Regions from separate parts of the Homo sapiens genome. Here regions 1 and 3 are each linked to region 2. Evidence: promoter capture Hi-C in 16 types of primary human blood cells and fetal thymus (Javierre and others, 2016). All regions are on one chromosome and are shown on one strand. The core of a region is centred on a gene start or on the middle of the fragment in contact, and the rest is flanking DNA. Distances in the headings are between cores, read along the strand shown. Region 1 overlaps UTP20 (UTP20 small subunit processome component). Region 2 holds the start of DEPDC4 (DEP domain containing 4). Region 3 overlaps UTP20 (UTP20 small subunit processome component).

Region 1 (2,700 bases), core at 164-2,663, 1.0 Mb after region 2:
AATTATATACCTTTGTATTGTTTCAGTTGTTAAGTGTCATGGATTACTTTCTTAATTTCATTCAAAATGACACATTGTTTAGAAGTTAAAAACAAAGCTTATTTACATACATGAGAAGATTTATTGTATCATTTCTCAAATAGTTAAGTGGGTATGCTTCTAGAAACTGTAGCTTAGGAAACCAGTTCCCTTGTCATTCCTTTGTTTTTATACTTAATCTTCTTATTTCTCTTGGAGTAGTTAGACCCGTTGTTGTGTTTTTGGTTTGCTTTGAGGCGGAATTGATGGGCATTCCTTGAGTTTGTGCTGAATACTCGACTTTGAAACATCCATGGAGGTGGGAGTTACTGTCCCACAGTCACAGAGCAGAGCTAGCTTTTGAGTTTGATCAGCTTGAGGTTCTGGAGGAACCTATTTTCTTTTTTAAATGTTTTATTTATTATTATTATTATTTTAAGAGCAGGTCTTGCTCTGTCACCCAGGCCGGAGTGCAGTGGCACAATCACGGCTCACTGCAGCCTCGATCTCCAGGGCCCAAGCTATCCTCTCACTTGAGCCTCCCAGGTAGCTGGAACCATAGGCACGCACCACCATGCCCAGCTAATTTTTTAATTTTTGTAGAGACGAGGTCTCGCTATGTTGCCCAGGCTGGTCTCAAACTCCTGGACTCAAGTGATCTTCCTACCTTGGCCTCTCAAAGTGTTGGGGTTACAGGTTGAGCCACTGTGTTTAGCAAACTCATCTTAACACCTACTTATATCTTCTGTATACCTTACAAATTGCTTCTCTATTAAAATATGCCAACAGAATCTTGTTGGTTTTTAAATGTATTGAATTCTGATTCCTGAGGAATGGGTAGTGAGTAACTCCAATAGAATTATTCCTTTGAAACTTTTCCCTTGATTTGTCAACACCCAAGCCCATCTCCAACAGGCAGATTCCTTGCACATGCCAAAACTGAGTTCTGTGCAGGGAGAGTGAAGCTGCTTTGTTGTTTGGCTTCCATGAGGTGAAGCTAAGGGACTGACTGAGACTGGGCGTCAGACCTTCTTACCCCATCATCTCAGCCATCTCAGATCCTCCCAGGAGGGTGACGTGTTAAATAAATAAATTTCGATGTGCTAACTCATGGCAAGTTCTTCCACTTCTGTGTTTCTTTCTCTGCAAAAACACCCCTCTGCCACCCCCAACGGAGATATGGTATGTGTGAATGGTCACCTTTGTTTTGATTCCTTCTATGAAGATTTTAAAATCATAGTTTGAATATTACTAGTAACACTCTATCTACCCATCTCACCAGTTTGCTGTGAGAAAAAATAAAGATAATAAATGTGAAAAGACTCTTTAGGAGATAAACTTACTGTCGTTTGACAACTACTTACGGTATCAGGCACTGGATACTGGGGTGCAACAAAGAATAAGAAAAAAGTTCCTTCTTTTGGGGAAAGGAATGTGGTGAGGCGGGTAAGCAAATAAGCGAGATGATTTCAGATCCTGATCGTGATAAAAGAAGACAAAGCAGTGTTGAGAGGGAGACTGAATGGAGAGGGGTCACTTTCCAGAGAGGGAACGTTTGGTCCAATTTTAAGCTGGGAAGGATCCAGCCTTGCAAAGATCTCAGTGAGAGACTCTCCAGACAGAAGGAAAAGTTAACTGCAAAGACTCTGGGACAGGAATAAGCTCAGCATGTTTGAAGTACAGAAAGAAAACCTCTGTGGGTAAAGAGCAAGGAGGAGATTGGGGTGAGAGGAGATGGAGGTGGGTGAGGGTCAAATCACAGAGGGCCTTACAGGATGACTTAAGGAGTATGGACTTCATTGGTGGAGCCATTGGCAGGTCTAGAAAACGGGAATGACGTGGCAACTAATGACTCATTTTTGTTTTTTAAAGCATCTTAGTATTTTGTAAGATTTTTGCAGATTGTTGAGTCATGATTATTACTAAAAAGACTATATATATCAAGATGTGGTGACTTTAAGGAATTGATAATTAAATTAACTTAGTTATCTATCATGATTTCCAGACACTAAACATCCTGGTAAGTATGAAACAAAAGAGAATGTAGCTTTTTGGAGAATTTTTTTTCTTTGTTTTTGTTTTTTTTTTTCCTTCCTTCCCCTACCTGACCATTTTTTGGTGAATTTTAATGATAAAAAGGGTGCAAGAGTAAAAACCTGATATTCCACTTCTATTGCATAACAAGCTAACCAAACTGGAGTTGGAGGATAATTGTAAAACAGATCATTTAACTTAAGATTTCTGTGATTTTTCTTTTGATTAGATTTTTGTCTTTCAAATAGGACCGAGGTGTAGTACATTGGCAAAAATAAAAAGAGGCTAACAAGAATAGTTAGCCTCTATCTAATCTGTGACCAGAGTCACAGATATTCAAAACAGAATGTCATGTCGAAAAATGTCATTGAGCAACTGTGTATCTGATCAAAGCAGCAGGAGAAAATTACTTATATGTCATAATCATTTTAGTGGTATTCGTCAACTTCATCACAGTAACTTTGCAACATCATTCTACATTTGTGGAAAGTAGTAAAATTCATGTCAAAAAGGAAAGGGAGAATGGAGGAAGTCAGTTCATTCCAGTGAATTGTCAATCAAAAACATGCCCAGGAGCACAAAATTGAGAAATCATACTTAAAACTAGAAGAAACTTGGTTTAAGTTATAAAGCAAATTAAAATAGAAG
Region 2 (3,065 bases), core at 566-3,065:
AGTCAGGGCAACAGAGTGAGACCCTGTCTCAATTAGAAACAAAAACAGTTGGCCAGGCGCAGTGGCTTAAGCCTGTAATCCCAGCACTTTGGGAGGCTGAGGCAGGTGGAGGTCAGGAGTTCAAGACCACACTGGCCAACATAGTGAAACCCCATCTCTACCAAAAATACAACACAAAAAAATTTAGCTGGGCATGGTGTCGCACGCCTGTAATCCCAGCTACTTGGGAAGCTGAGGCAGGAGAATTGCTAGAACCAGGAGGTGGAGGTTGCGGTGAGCCGAGATCACGCCATTGCACTCCAGCCTGGGCAAGGGAAAAAAAACAGTCTATTACCTGAAAAAAACAGTTAAATAAATTATGGTATACCCTTACTATAGAATAGTAGCCAGCCATTAGAAAGAATGAAGTAGAGCTATGTTTATAGTGTGCAAGGATCTCATTAAGTAGGGAAAAAGAAAAACCCAAAACAAAAATTTTTTAAAAATGAGCTGAGCAGAACAACTTGTATATTATTATCCTACTTAGGTAAAAATGAATTCCCAACCTATGTAAAAATGTATGTAAATAAATAGAAAGATCTGGAAGAATAAACTTCAAACGAGTAACCTTGGGGAAGAAGGATTGTAATGGTGGCTGATGAAAGAGGATGTACCCTTTTAAAGTGTACAATTCAGTGTTTCTAGTACATTCACAAAGTTGTGCAGCCATCACTATTATCTAATTTCAGACCATTGCATCATTCCACAAAGAAACCTATAGTTCGCAGTCATTCTTCATTCTTCCGTACCCCAGTAAAATTTTAATTAAAATTAAATTTAATTAAAATTAATTAAAAAAATTAAAGAATGATAAGGGAATAACTTAGAACTTCTAGAATGTTTTTTCTAGATTTGCAGGGGGAAGTGGGTAGAATCCAAGAACTTAAGCTCTCTTCTCCAACTATGCATAACCGCAAAAGTATGCCCAACTATACATATGTTTACGATAAAATGACAGAAATAAAAATCCACCACCCTCAAATTCCTTCTGTAACAGAAGTTACCCGTCTAATCACTCAAGAAATCTTATCCCCAGACATTGTGGGCAGAGCGGAGACTGAGGAGGGGAGGCCAGAAAGTGATGGGCGGAGGTGGGCAGGAGGGTACTCGACGGGGTAGGTGGAAAATACAGCGGTACAGCCTGTTTTCCATAGACAGTCTACCTCTCTAACCTTCATTAAACAAGTAGGCTAGATTAAAGAAATAACTCCTCTAGCTCAAGGAATTTGCCCTCTAGTACATTAACCCCTTGTTGCTGTAAGTGTAGCCTAGGGACCAGCAGCATTGGTGCCATCTGGACATGTATTAGAAACGCAGATTATCAGACCCTACTCCTCAATCAGAATTTGCACTTTCACAAGATCCTAGGGATTCGTATGTATATTAAAGTTTGAGAAAAAACGCTTTCCTGCACGCTCCAAGGGCACTTCACCACAGTAACCCCTAAAAAGCCTCAGTCCTGGGTCCCCCAGTCCAGTGCCTGGTAGGGCAGGAAGGGGGCGGGGCTAGGAAATGGGCGGGGCCCTGGACCAATGAGGAGCAGAGTCCCAGCCGCCTGCTCCCTTCAGCTGCCCCCTCCACCTTCACTGCACATTTGGCTAGGATATACAGGGCTACCTGTCCTCCTTTTCCGGCAGAAGCCATCTCTACGGTTCCTGGAACTTGGCCCGTTCAGCCCTGGGCCCGGAAGCTCGTTCTGACTGACAAGTCTACGGAACCTCGGAGTCAAAAGAACCGCCATAAGCTCGCGCGCTGGCTCCTCCCCTGGCACCATAGCCCCGCCCCACCTGACACCCGGGGCGGAGAGAAGTACTGGCTCCGCCTCTTCCGAACCGGCAGGAAGTGACGTCATGCCCCCGGCCGGCAGGTCTTTTAGTCTTTTTCCCCCTCCCTTACTCTTCGTCCCCGGTCCCTCCCCTCCCCACCCCTTTCCTTCTAGCTCCGACGTTTGCGGCCGCGGGGGCGGCGGAGGATATGGAGTAAAGCCAGAGTCAGTGGCCAGGCACGAAGGCAGAGCAGGAACAGCCAGGAGGCGTTTATTAGGGGGGCGGGGGGAAAGAGCCCCAGCACCGCCCCTCCTGGAAGAAGGAAGAGGTAAGTGACCGGCCGCCGGCACCGACCGACCTCCCTCACCGGCGGCTCTCTCGCCTGGGCTCCCGGAGCCGGCGAGGAGGGAATGGAGGACTCGCGCCCGGGTTAGGCCTCCCAGGGCCGCTCAGGCTGGTGGGTGTTGCCTGGTGACGGGCCTGCCGGCGGCCGGCCGGGCGATCGGCGGTCGGCGCCCGCGCAAAGCGGGGCTGGACGAGCAGCGAGCTCCGGGGAGCGGATCCGAGAGGGCCGAGTCCTCGAAAGAGGCCTTGAGGCGACGGGAGACCCGGGATCGAAGTCAGCTGCCGGAGGGAGAGCCCCCCATGCCGGCTCGAGAGCTCGGGTTTCGGTGGTGGAGAACGTAGTACCTTTCGGGGACATTGGACACTACTCTAGGACCGGGTGAGAGAGTTCACCTCAGTTCTGAGGTCCGGAATCCGGTAGCCTGGGTCACCAGCCAGGGCCCTGCCGCCCGCCGTCCTTCTCTGACAGTAGCTTTAGTTCTGGAATGGAAGGTTATTGTGTGTGAGGTGGGTGGGGCAGGGGTTTTGTTAAGAGAAAAAACCCCACGGTTACTCCTGCAGTCTTGTTTTTCTAAACGGGAGAATACGGATGGAGGAGGGTTTAGACCGATAAAGCTTGCAAAAACTTATTGGACTTTGAGCACATACCTGTGATCCGTAATTAAGGAGGCCATATTATCAAATCCACCCTCTAAGGCACTCGAGGAGGCTCCAGACAAGCTGCTTAAAAGCGCTATGCCTGTAGTGACTTCATTGGAAGGTGTCAACTATTTTTTAGTACGTCAAACTCAGGAATTATTTGTGATGACACTTTCTAAAAACATTGGATACTATGAGTGAGTTTTCTAAGTAGCCTATCTCCGTTCTGAAAAATAAATAGTTTAGCAAAAATGCTCCAAATCAGCCTGCCACTGT
Region 3 (3,027 bases), core at 367-2,866, 1.1 Mb after region 2:
GCCAAGTGTGGTGGTGGGTGCCTGTGGTTCCAGCTTCTCGGGAGGCTGAGGCAGGAGAATCGTTTGAACCCAGGAGGCAGAGGTTGCAGTGAGTCGAGATCGTATCACTGCACTCCAGCCTGGAAAACAGAGCAAGACTCTGTTTGAAAAAAAAAAGAGAAAGAGAGAGAGGATTGGCCTCACCCAAAAGCTGGTAGACCCCAGGGTATGACTGTGGGATGCAGGTGTCAGAGAGTTTTGTTTCCATTTTTACTTTGCATATATTCTGTTCATCTTTTTTTACTTCCAGGAAAATGTGAAGCTGTTGTTAGCAATCAGGTTTAGGTCTTGTGTAAAAATTTAGAATTTTTCAAATCTCATTTAGCAAATAACCACAAGTAAATTGCTATCCTATGGTATATGTATATATGACTTCATTAATTCTGTAAAATACTGTTCTTAGTTGTTGCTACACCAAGATCAAATGGTGCAAAAAATAACCTTGGATTGCATAATGACATATAAACATCCTCATGTCCTCCCTTACAGGTAAGTTACTTGAAGCTTAAAGAACTGTTATTTCTTCAGCTGATTTTTATATTTCTGCCTAAGAGCCTCTTCTAGAATAATTTATTAAAGGCCTAGAAAGTTTCCCTTTTTTCTGAGGTCATCGTATTTCCAAGCAAGAAATGAAAACGAGTAGTATATTTGTTGGGTTGTTCTCCATGATACTAAAATAGAGAATGTTAATTTTAAAACTGTGTTGTAAATATTATGTCATTTTCCTCTTCTTATTAATATAATGCCATAGAATCTTGGTGGTTACTTAGAGAATCAAAGTCACTCTAAGAACTGAGGAAAGCTTTTTGTATCATGCTTTTTTAAACAGCTGAGTTATGGACAGAATCTAATCTTTTCTAATCCGTTATACCTTTTGAAATGTACAAATCTGTCATTTTAGGAGATTTTTTTGAGGATTTTCCTTTATGGATATCAACCATAATATGTACTATATACCTTATTTTAGTTATTACTCTGTGTACATATTTCACTCTTTCATTATTCAAAAGCACTGTTGATAAAGTGGTGATTTGTGCTGTTCTCTGTTTTTAAAGGGAAAACTTACAAAGGTTGCTTGAAGACAGAAGCTTTAAGGAAGAGATAGTGCATTTTAGCATTTCAGAAGATAATGCTGTAGTGAAAACAGCCCACCGAGCAGATCTATTTCCTATTCTGATGAGGTATTTATGCTGTTCAAACACTGATTTTTAAAAAGTTAATAACAAACACAATTGTGAGTACAGTATTATGGTTCTTTCAACAACTGTAATAGAATATTTCATTTTCTATTTTCTTTTGATTGCATTTTCTTTGGAGATGGGGTCTTGCTCTGTCACCCAGGCTGGAGTGCAGTGGCATGATCACAGCTCATTGCAGCCTAGACCTCCCAGGCTCAAGTGATGCTCCCACCTTGGCCTCCCAACGTGCTAAGATTACAAATGTGAGCCATCACCGCCAGCTGCTTTTTTTTTGAATTGTACCTTTGGGAGAAGCCAAATTGGTATAGAGACTAAATTTTGTTCCTAACATAAAGAAAGATCTTTATTTATTTTTTTTTTAGAGGGAGTCTCGCTCTGTCACCCAGGCTGGAGTGCAGTGGTGTGATCTCAGCTCACTGCAACCTCCGCCCTCCCAGGTTCAAGCTATTCTTGTGCCTCAGCCTCCTGAGTAGCTGGGATCACAAGCGTGCGCCACCATGCCTGGCTAATTTTTGTATTTTTAGTAGAGAAAGAGTTTCACCATGTTGGCCAGGCTGGTCTTGAACTCCTGACCTCAGGCGATCCACCCGCCTCTGCCTCCCAAAGTGCTGGGATTACAGGCGTGAGCCACTGCGCCTGGGCCCTAATATAAAGAAGATCTTACCATAGTATTATTGTGACAATAATATAATTAAATTTAATATTTTCCTAAATTTTACTGTTGAGATACAGTAGAAATATTTCACTCTGTTTTCCAAATATCATGTGATATTTAATGATGTTATTATTCCTTTAATTATAAATGGTAGAGCAAAAAGATGATCCATAAATAATACAAAGTTTATATATGCTGGGTATAAAGAAAAATGAAGCTTAAATCTTTCATCTCACCAGCTCTGGAATGATGAGAATTGGAAAGATCATGGGATTGGGATTTAACAGGTTTGCTTTTGGTCCAGCCCCCTACTGTGTAGTTCTATCAGATAGAGAAAGTCTTTTAGATCCACTGGGCTTCTGTTTCCTTAATAGGAGCTGGTTCAGATATGCTCAGGGACTCTGCTAGCACTTATCTAATGGCTCTGTTTAGTTCCATTTGTAGCCAGCATTAAGATTCCATTTATAGCAAGCTTTAAGAACTTTACTATAATAGACATAAAAATATTTGAGGGAGTGAATAAGTGAATATACAAAATTACAGTTATTGGTGGATTACAGAAACAATAAAAATAGAAAGCAGAAATCATCTTATATCCAAACACTCAAAAATAACTATCAACTTTATAATCTCAAAAACAATAGTAAATAGGAAACATCCGCAATACTTGTATATTTTAAATTTCTAAGAGTAAAAAGCAGATGGTTGTATGAAGTCCAGAGTAGTTGAATACAAGCTACCAAAAAACATCTAAATAATACACCCATACAAGTTTTTGAAAGAAAATTGAGATGATATTTTATAAAACGTTTTATAACCTTTTTTCACTTAATATTTTACAAGAATTTTCTTAGATCATGAAATGTTTCAAAATGTGATTCTTCATCATATAGACAAGCTGTCATTTACTTGTGTTGAGCATTTTGCCTGTCTGTAGTTTTTGTTGTTTATTTTGGTTTTTTTGCAAAATAGAAAATCTTACATTGAATACCTATAAATCTTATTCGATTGATGGATTAGAATAGATTCTTGATAGGAAAATTGATGAAAATTTTAAAACTTTTTGGTGTATATTACCAAATTGTTGTTCAGAACTACTTCTTTCCAACCATAAGTTTGAACCACTTTATATTC

The links. Contacts are between HindIII fragments. The CHiCAGO score rates a contact against its expected background, and 5 or more counts as called.
Region 1: a contact is called between a fragment that was not itself captured here and the fragment with the promoter of DEPDC4 in region 2, in 2 of 17 cell types (total CD4 T cells and naive CD4 T cells). The highest score is 8.3, in total CD4 T cells.
Region 3: a fragment that was not itself captured here is called in contact with the fragment with the promoter of DEPDC4 in region 2 in 7 of 17 cell types (total CD4 T cells, activated CD4 T cells, non-activated CD4 T cells and 4 more); the score reaches 11.2 in total CD4 T cells.

The regions. Positions count from the first base shown.
Region 1 is chr12:101,296,779-101,299,478 of GRCh38, forward strand. The region is part of intron 12 of UTP20 (UTP20 small subunit processome component); the gene reads left to right. Among named protein-coding and RNA genes, the nearest start is that of UTP20, 18 kb to the left of the region's middle. RefSeq lists an enhancer at 2,534-2,700. The HindIII fragment of the contact is 2,636 bases long and covers 96-2,700 here.
Region 2 is chr12:100,265,264-100,268,328 of GRCh38, forward strand. DEPDC4 (DEP domain containing 4) reads right to left here and starts at 1,816. Exons shown (of 10, transcript NM_001364818.2): 1 at 1,657-1,816. The coding sequence starts at 1,813. It overlaps SCYL2 (SCY1 like pseudokinase 2), which reads left to right and starts at 1,914. Exons shown (of 18, transcript NM_017988.6): 1 at 1,914-2,529. RefSeq lists enhancers at 1,659-1,738, 2,409-2,478, 2,489-2,548 and silencers at 2,109-2,158, 2,259-2,338. The HindIII fragment of the contact is 4,398 bases long and covers 1-2,763 here.
Region 3 is chr12:101,320,410-101,323,436 of GRCh38, forward strand. UTP20 (UTP20 small subunit processome component) reads left to right here. Exons shown (of 62, transcript NM_014503.3): 24 at 443-528; 25 at 1,095-1,220. Among named protein-coding and RNA genes, the nearest start is that of UTP20, 42 kb to the left of the region's middle. The HindIII fragment of the contact is 983 bases long and covers 1,126-2,108 here.